Regions from separate parts of the Homo sapiens genome. Here region 1 is linked to region 2. Evidence: promoter capture Hi-C in 16 types of primary human blood cells and fetal thymus (Javierre and others, 2016). All regions are on one chromosome and are shown on one strand. The core of a region is centred on a gene start or on the middle of the fragment in contact, and the rest is flanking DNA. Distances in the headings are between cores, read along the strand shown. Region 1 overlaps FBLN7 (fibulin 7). Region 2 holds the start of ZC3H6 (zinc finger CCCH-type containing 6).

The links. The method cuts DNA at HindIII sites, captures the fragments that hold promoters and counts their contacts. A CHiCAGO score of 5 or more calls a contact.
Region 1: a contact is called between a fragment that was not itself captured here and the fragment with the promoter of ZC3H6 in region 2, in 1 of 17 cell types (non-activated CD4 T cells). The highest score is 5.9, in non-activated CD4 T cells.

Annotation. Positions count from the first base shown.
Region 1 is chr2:112,187,476-112,191,498 of GRCh38, reverse strand. FBLN7 (fibulin 7) reads right to left here. Exons shown (of 8, transcript NM_153214.3): 8 at 3,281-4,023. The coding sequence ends at 3,993. Among named protein-coding and RNA genes, the nearest start is that of FBLN7, 51 kb to the right of the region's middle. The HindIII fragment of the contact is 8,526 bases long and covers 1-4,023 here.
Region 2 is chr2:112,274,347-112,278,151 of GRCh38, reverse strand. ZC3H6 (zinc finger CCCH-type containing 6) reads right to left here and starts at 2,555. Exons shown (of 12, transcript NM_198581.3): 1 at 2,126-2,555. The coding sequence starts at 2,157. RefSeq lists a silencer at 1,786-2,265 and enhancers at 2,456-2,665, 2,281-2,853. The HindIII fragment of the contact is 12,828 bases long and covers 906-3,805 here.

The sequences.
Region 1 (4,023 bases), core at 718-3,217, 86 kb after region 2:
AAGCTATGTTAAAAATGAAAACAAGGCCAGGCGCGGTGGCTATGCCTGTAATCCCAGCACTTTGGGAGGCCGAGGCGGGCAGACCACTTGAGGACAGGAGTTTGAGACCAGCTTGGCCAACGTGGCAAAACCCTGTCTCTACTGAAAATACAAAAATTAGCTAGGTGTGGTGGTGCATGCCTGTAATCCCAGCTACTCAGGAGGCTGAGGCATGAGAATCACTTGAACCCAGGAGGTGGAGGTTGCAGTGAGCCAAGATTGCACCACTGCACTCCAGCCTGGGCAACAGAGCTGGACTCTGTCTCAAAAATAAAATAAAATAAAATAAAACGAAAACACTACAAAAAAATAAAAATTTGCTGGGCATAATGGCATGGACCTGTAGTCCCAGCTACTCAGAGGCTGAGGTGGAAGGATCGCTTGAGCCCAGGAATTTGAGGTTGCAGTGAGCTATGGTTGTACCATTGCAGTCTACTCTGAGTGACACAGAGAGACCCTGTCCCTATGCCAGTTCTCCCCTCTAACTAACAAAAAACCCACAGTAGTCCTGAATTAAATTGGAAGTATCAGCATGAACTCATGTAGTGTTTTATCTTAAAAAATACTAATAATACATATTTCCTAGCTCTAGCCACTAAAGCCAAGAAACTATGATGTAACCACTACCAATGAGCACTCTGAGCACTCAGACCTTGATGTCTAATTACCATCCCCCACTAGAAGGAACCAGGGATTACTGGGAGAAAACAGCTGATTTCAGGGCAGGGGCAGAAAATATACAGGATGAAAAAGACTACTAGGGTCATGTCAAAAGGAATCAGCCACCTCGAAGCAGCTCCCAAGAACCAAAGATAGAACAATTTGAGCAAAAACAAAGACAGTAGCTGTAATTACTATTAATACAGATGATAACACACATGATAACATCAGATATGTTTCAACCATGAGTTCATAATGTACTCAAAGAAGAAAACAACTCTCACAGGGCATGTTGGAAAGATGCCTGTGAACCATCTCATTTTGAAAACTGAAAAATAAAGGGAGGAAAGCCAAGAATCAATCCTACTTTTCTTATACAAACCAAATCTCAGGGTAACCAAATAACTGATGAGAGTGTGTTTCTCTTTATAAAGTATGTCAGCTAATAAACAAAGAAAAAATCAATAGCACTAGAATATTAATTGCAATCCCTACAGAAGTAATGGATCTGTGCAATCTGCGGGGGCTAACATCAGAAAAGAGAGGCAACCAGATATTTTGCTCCTCCTACTGGAAGCATCTGTCACCACCAATAAAGTAGTCTTGCCTAAATAAATCTAACTTGAATCTGACTAACTCTCTAGATTTATAAGAAATAGAGAAGACAGAGATGCACTCAGAAAAACTCATACTGTGAAAAATTCTACAATATAAATGACCCTATATTTTGTCTTCCAACAAACCTTCAGATTATTCCAATATATGCTGAAGTGTGAGACCCACTGCTACAGATTAAAAAAAGGCTTAAAATGCATATCAATAAATCACAGTGCATAGACCTACTGCAAGTAAACAAAAAAATATAAGCCACTCAGAGAAATGTCAACGATGGCTGAATATTTAAAGGTATTAAGGAATTAATGTTTTAGATGTGAATGGCATTTTGGTTATCCTTTTTTTAAAAGTTGTCTTTTAGAGATACATTCTAAAATATTTATAGATGAAATGATAGGATTGGGAATCATCATGAGGTGGGGTGATAGCAGATGAAACAAGTTGGCCATGTGTTCATTGTTGAAGCTACTGATTCAGACATGGGGTTCATTATACTATTCTTTCTACTTTTGCATATGTTTGCAACTTTGCATGATAAAAAGTCTTAAAGCCCCTCCCTCAAATAATATGAAACTATATTACCTGGAAAGGGGTGCAAATGAATTCTGGTTAACCAGTAGTTACTCTTAGTACAGAGTGGAGCTCTGAAAGGACAAAAGAAAAGTTGATTCCATAGAGGAGAGTGAGGAGAGAGCATATAGAGAACAAGACACTCCACAGGGAGAAGTGCCCAGCCATTATCCACAAAAGACCCATCATCCACATCATCCACAAGAAGTGCCCAGCCATCATTGTCCACAGCCATCATCCACATCCTAAGCAGTCAGCCATTTGTACTTTGGTGCTGTGGGCACCGGGGCTGGGTGCGTGATTTCATCAGTGGGAAGCAGGTTTGATGACGGCAGATCTTGGTGATGGAAATTGTTGCTTTAAACTGGGCTGTTTGGCATCAAAGCCCTATCATATACCAGTTTAGAGGGCACCTGCTCTGGAGACTCCCCAAACACTCCCCACCTTCTGGCATGTGAGAGGCTTGTCCCCCTGAACACATCATATCTCAATATATCCCACATATATCCCACATCATATGTCATCATATCTCACATATGATGTGTGTGATGTGTGGGCTGTCCCTAGCCCACAGCTGTGACATCTCCCATTCAGGAACCTGGCCAGGCCCTTAGACTCTTCCGCCTGGTGTTGTGCACATGGGACTGGGTGGTGTGCAGGCTTCTGGCCCAGCATAGCTACATTTAGAAACATAAGGCTGTGGATAATGTTTTAATGAAGTCTTGTAACTTTAGTTTGCATGTCCTTTTTCTGTTGTTAGAGATCGCAGCTGAGCCCATGGGAGAAGAAACATTTCAAAAGCAACTCTTGACTGTGTCTCAACCTTTGTCCAAACAACAGTACAAGAATAAACCATCTTAGAAACCATCTTGATGTAGGGCTTGATCATTGAACTAGTGACACACTTCTGGCTCCATCTCATACCAGGGCAAATACAAAGATTTAAATAAAATATGTGTGAGGAAATCTCACCAGCAGCTTGACATGTAATTAGATAATGAAACTTTCTTACAGCTTCGCTACCTCTTAAGTTTTAGCTTGAATGATCTTCCCCACCCTACCCCATACCCCATCCTACCACACCCCACTCAGCTCTGGCCAGTGTTTTCTCTCTTTGATCACCTGGAGGGCGTCACCCTGTAGTGAATTCATCAGAAACAAAAGGCCATGGAATCTATGACAACTCAAGCATTTTCCTAAACTCTCCACGGCCAGGTATTGTCCTTACCAATCTCCCATGTGGTCAAAACAAATTTATAATGTGGAACAGTCCCAAACATCACCTCTGTGTTCTCTGACTCATTTATTCCAGTGTATCCAACCCAGACAGGAAGAGAGTCAGCCACCCCCTCCTAGAAGGAAGTGGGCTGTCTCATGCTCAGGTAGAAGTCAGGCGGGCAGGAAGGAGCAATCACTTTTATTTTTTCAGTTATATTACCAGGTTATGTATTTGAGATATGATTTCTCAAAAGGGAAGTAACTCAGGCAGAATCCATGCTTTTAACAATGGGTCCTTGGTCTAGAAGGATCTGCGTGGGGTTTAAGGCCCTCCTGTGACTCTCTGATGAGAAGGCAGGCAGGCAGGCATGTCACAGAGGAAAAGGCAGATAAGAACAACGTGCTGGGTCATGGGAGGAGACTCCACTTCCTATGCCACATGCGCAGAGGCATGACTAGGGCCCCCCGCACGACTAGAACCGTTTCATTCATAGCAAGCCTGGCTACAAAAAGGCAGAAGGGCTGATAGTCACCTGACACACATTGCCACCTTTTCTCTCCCCAGCTAGTTCAAACTCACAAGGCCATTTGCACAGCATTTTGGAAAGCCACCCATCCCCTGGATGAAAAAGTTTTAAGAAAGTTAGTGCATAATCTAAGGGAAGGGCCTCAAAGCAGAAAAAAAAAAAGAGTGATGGCAGCAGTTGAGTTTTGTGGCTGCTCTTCCGTGCTATTCCATGGGGCGCCGTGCAACGCTGCCCTAGAAGCCTGGGTGCACTGGTGAGAGGGCGGGAACAGGCGGGAGGCTCCACGCAGTCGGTGCCCGAAGCTGAGCCTTCGGGGAAGAGAAATGAGGTCAGCTCTCCACACCCCAGTGCCCCTGTGTACCCTCAGAAGTCATAGGGGGATACAAAGATGGTG
Region 2 (3,805 bases), core at 1,306-3,805:
GAATTTCCCAGGGAGCCTATGAAAAATACCCTAGAGATTCTGATTCAGTTGCTCTGGGCAGAACAAAAATTTATTCCCCAAAGTGATTCTGATGATTAACTATCATTGGGAAACACTGATCGAGTATAGCGGTTCTCAATTTGGCACATATTAGAATTTCCTGGGGAGCTTTTAGAACTCTTAAAACCCAGGCTGAGGTCCAGACCAACAGAAATAGCGCCAATACTTTAAAGAAAAAAAGTTCCCCAGGGAAGGTTTAGAACCATTGATCTGATCTTGTAGAATTTCTCCTGACTTCTAGTTCACTTTGTTTTTGATGTAGTTGTTTTGTTTTTCATGTGGGTTGACAAAAAAAGCATGAAAAAAAAAAACCATCTCCTTCATCTCAGCACAATGATGCCACTTAACAATTGGCTAAGTTAAAGTGGAGCTAACCTTTTTGTTTCAGAAATCACTAGAAAATACTTTTAGTCCGAATTTTAAATAAAATAGACTAATCTTAATCTTTAGCTCCTACTACCAACCTATTAACATATCTTACAAATAATTCTTTAAAGTTTTCTAACCTCTAAACCAGTATTTTAAAATTTCAAATTCTTTAAAAGGTCTGTCATCACAGTTCCTTACCAGCAAAATTATTTTGATACTTGAATTTGATGGCATTGTTTTTTCATGATGTACAATACATAACTCCATATATAGAAGTTACTTTGTGCACTAAGAGAGGGGAACAGATATTCTTCCATATTAAAAAAAAAAAGGATTTTAGGCTCCATTAGCAAAACCCCATCATTGGTTTGTCCATACCTCAAGAGCAAGGTATTAGTCAACCCATTCTAAGAATTTCCTTTTTAATACAAAAGATAACGTTAAAAAAATCATTAAAAATGTGCCAAGTGCAAGCTTATCATTTTTAAAAGTGCATTTTACTTTCCAAAAATTTTTACACTTTGATTGACGTGCCCTCTGGGAATCTACTTTTATTATTACAATACTGAAGTTGTTGAAATACCATTTTTATCCCTCTCAAGATTGCTAGGTATTTAGATATTTCAAATTTCAGCAGTGTTTGTGATTTTTGCTTCTGGGTTTTAAAAAACGTGTTTAGGATGCTTTACCAAGCCGATCACATTACTACAGATAAAACTTCAGCAATGTATATAGTCTATAGTAAAACGTATATTTTTTCTTACTTCTATTCACAAAGGAGTAATTGTGAGGTTCTAGATTTTCAAATTAATATTCTAAGTAAGAATCAGATGCAATGGATTTTGTTTCAGTAAGTTTAATGAATGAAAGCCCCCCTTTCGCATTATTAAAGATATATACGAATGAAAATTTGAATTATAACCAAAATTTAAGTATGCTACAGTATACTTTGTAAATGTCCCCAAACTCGAATGGAAACAAGAATGTGCCTCTTAAGGCACAGAGCAAAAAATAAAAAATCAGAATCTCAATATTCAAGTGATACACACCATCTAGAAAATTGGGCTAGCCGGAATAATCCATGGAGTTTTTACGTTAGGGTAAAACTGTGCTAAACTAAGTTTCTGCAAAGCCTAAGTATTTTGTGTTAACATATTAAACTTGAAACTTGCCATCTCAAATTCCAAGGGATAAGACTGTATACAACAGATGGCCTTTTGGTGCTGCTTAAAACTTCCCTGAAAACCAAATGTTTATTTTTTTAGAGGTGTTCTCGGTTCTCGGGAAGCAGTCAAATATCAAAACACCCATTCCTGAAAATTCCTGGCTGGTCCTATCTGGCCGGGAGCACCGACACCTGGACGGGCAGAAGCAGGACCTCAGCACCGAGCCGGGACGCTGAGAGCCGCCCGGCGCACACGGAGCCCGCCCGGGGGGCGGGGGGCTCGCACGTGCCCGGCCGGGGGCGGGGCCGGCGCTGGCGAGCAGCGACCCCGGCTCGGGGAGGCGGGCGCGGCCGGGCCGACCTCCCCCGCGGCCGCGATCCAGCAGTTTACATAAGAGTGCGCGTCATGGAACTGACGGAGCCACACAGAGACGTCTAGGTCATGCAGGAGGCGCCCGGCCCCGGCCCGCTCCCGCCGCCCCAGACCCCTCCTCTCATCCGACAGAAAGACAGACAAGAAGGGTTCCCGACCTGTCGTGCCCTGCATGTTCAGAGTCTGTCATGTTTGGTCAAGAACGGGGCGGGGCTGGAGGGCAGGTCTGCGAGGCCGGCGGCGGCGGGGCGCGGGGAAGACCCCCCGCGCCGCCTGCGGGAACCTGCTCCCGGCCGCCGCCGACAGGTGACGAAGTGGTAAAAACTCACGGTTACTAGTGAGCGACACAGACACAGACTTTCCAGTCTATTAACAACCACGCCAGAGAGATGGGGCTCTAACTGCAAACACTGGGCAACGGCCCCGCGCTGCCGGCGCTGCCGCTCTAGTCTCTATTCGCCGCCGGTGGCTGTGGCGTGGGAGCGGGCGGGCGGCGTGCAGCGACGCGGGGATTTGGACAGTGGCCGTAACGGTGATTTCTCCTCACCAACATGGCGGCACCCGAAACAGGCGGCTCGAGAAAATGGCGCCGGCCGCAACACCTTGCCCGGGACTAAAGGGCAAGAGAGATTCCTCCGCGAGCCGCGGCCCTTGCCCAGCCCGCCGGGGCCGAGCGCGTTGACCATTGGAGGAGAGTGCCCGTCAATCACCTGCAGGGGCGGGTCTTCGCCCTTCTCTGTGCAGCGGCGGAGGCGGCAGCCTAGTGGCGGGGCCGGGCGGCGAGAGACGCGGCCGGATGGCTCCTCGAGTGTCTGCAGGAGGGGGAGGCAGCCCACGGGACCTACGAGGGCCACCAGCGCTTCTGCTCCCGGCGCAGTACGGGCCGCGGTTTTTCCTGCGAGACGCCCGCCGCCCGAGGAGTTCCAGACGCACCAAGCAAACGGGCCCCAAAACCGTTAGCCGAGGCGGGCAGGGGTGGGATAACAAAGAACAAGGCGGCTGTAGAGTCCTTAAATTTTTTTGTGAAAACCTTTGTTCTTGTAATAATAGGGAAATGCAGTTTCTCCTTCACAGTTGTAGCAAGTATCTGTTTTTGTAACGTTTAGTGTTCAGAATCATGTTTTAAGGAAAATAGCTTGCCATGCAGTTTTTTCTTGTATTTGCTGTTAAATTTACCCAATTATTACTTAAATAGGAATAGCTATTGAAATAATTATATAAACGTTACTTTATTTCGTAATAATATTAACATGTAAAATGTATGCGAGTATTTTATAAATACTATTAGGCATGCCTTTTTTTTTTTTTTTTTTTTTTTTTTTTTTTTTTTTTTCTGAGATGGAGTCTCCTCTGTCGCCCAGGCTGGAGTGCAGTGTCGCGCTCTCGGCTCACTGCAACCTCTGCCTCCTGGGTTCAAGCAATTTTCCTGCCTCAGCCTCCCGAGTAGCTGGGACTGCAGGCACGCGCCACCACGCCTGGCTAATTTTTGTATTTTTAGTAGAGATGGGGTTTCCCCATTTTGGCCAGGCTGGTCTCGAACTCCTGACTTCAGGTGATCCGCCCTCCTGGGTCTCCCAAAGTGCTGGGGTTACAGCCGTGAGCCACCGCGCCCGACCATGCATGAGTTTTTTATACTTATGAAGTGACCTTAAAAAATTTTTAAATGACAAGTCAGTGTTTTGGCCTATTTAATATATTAGTCCTGAAGGAAAGTTCCTTGCTTTTTACTAAAATGATAGACTCAATGATTAATCCAAATATCTGACTTAATTTGTCTTTCCTTAATAATACATTTTACTAATACATAAATGGAATGCATTCAAAAACAATTGCAATGA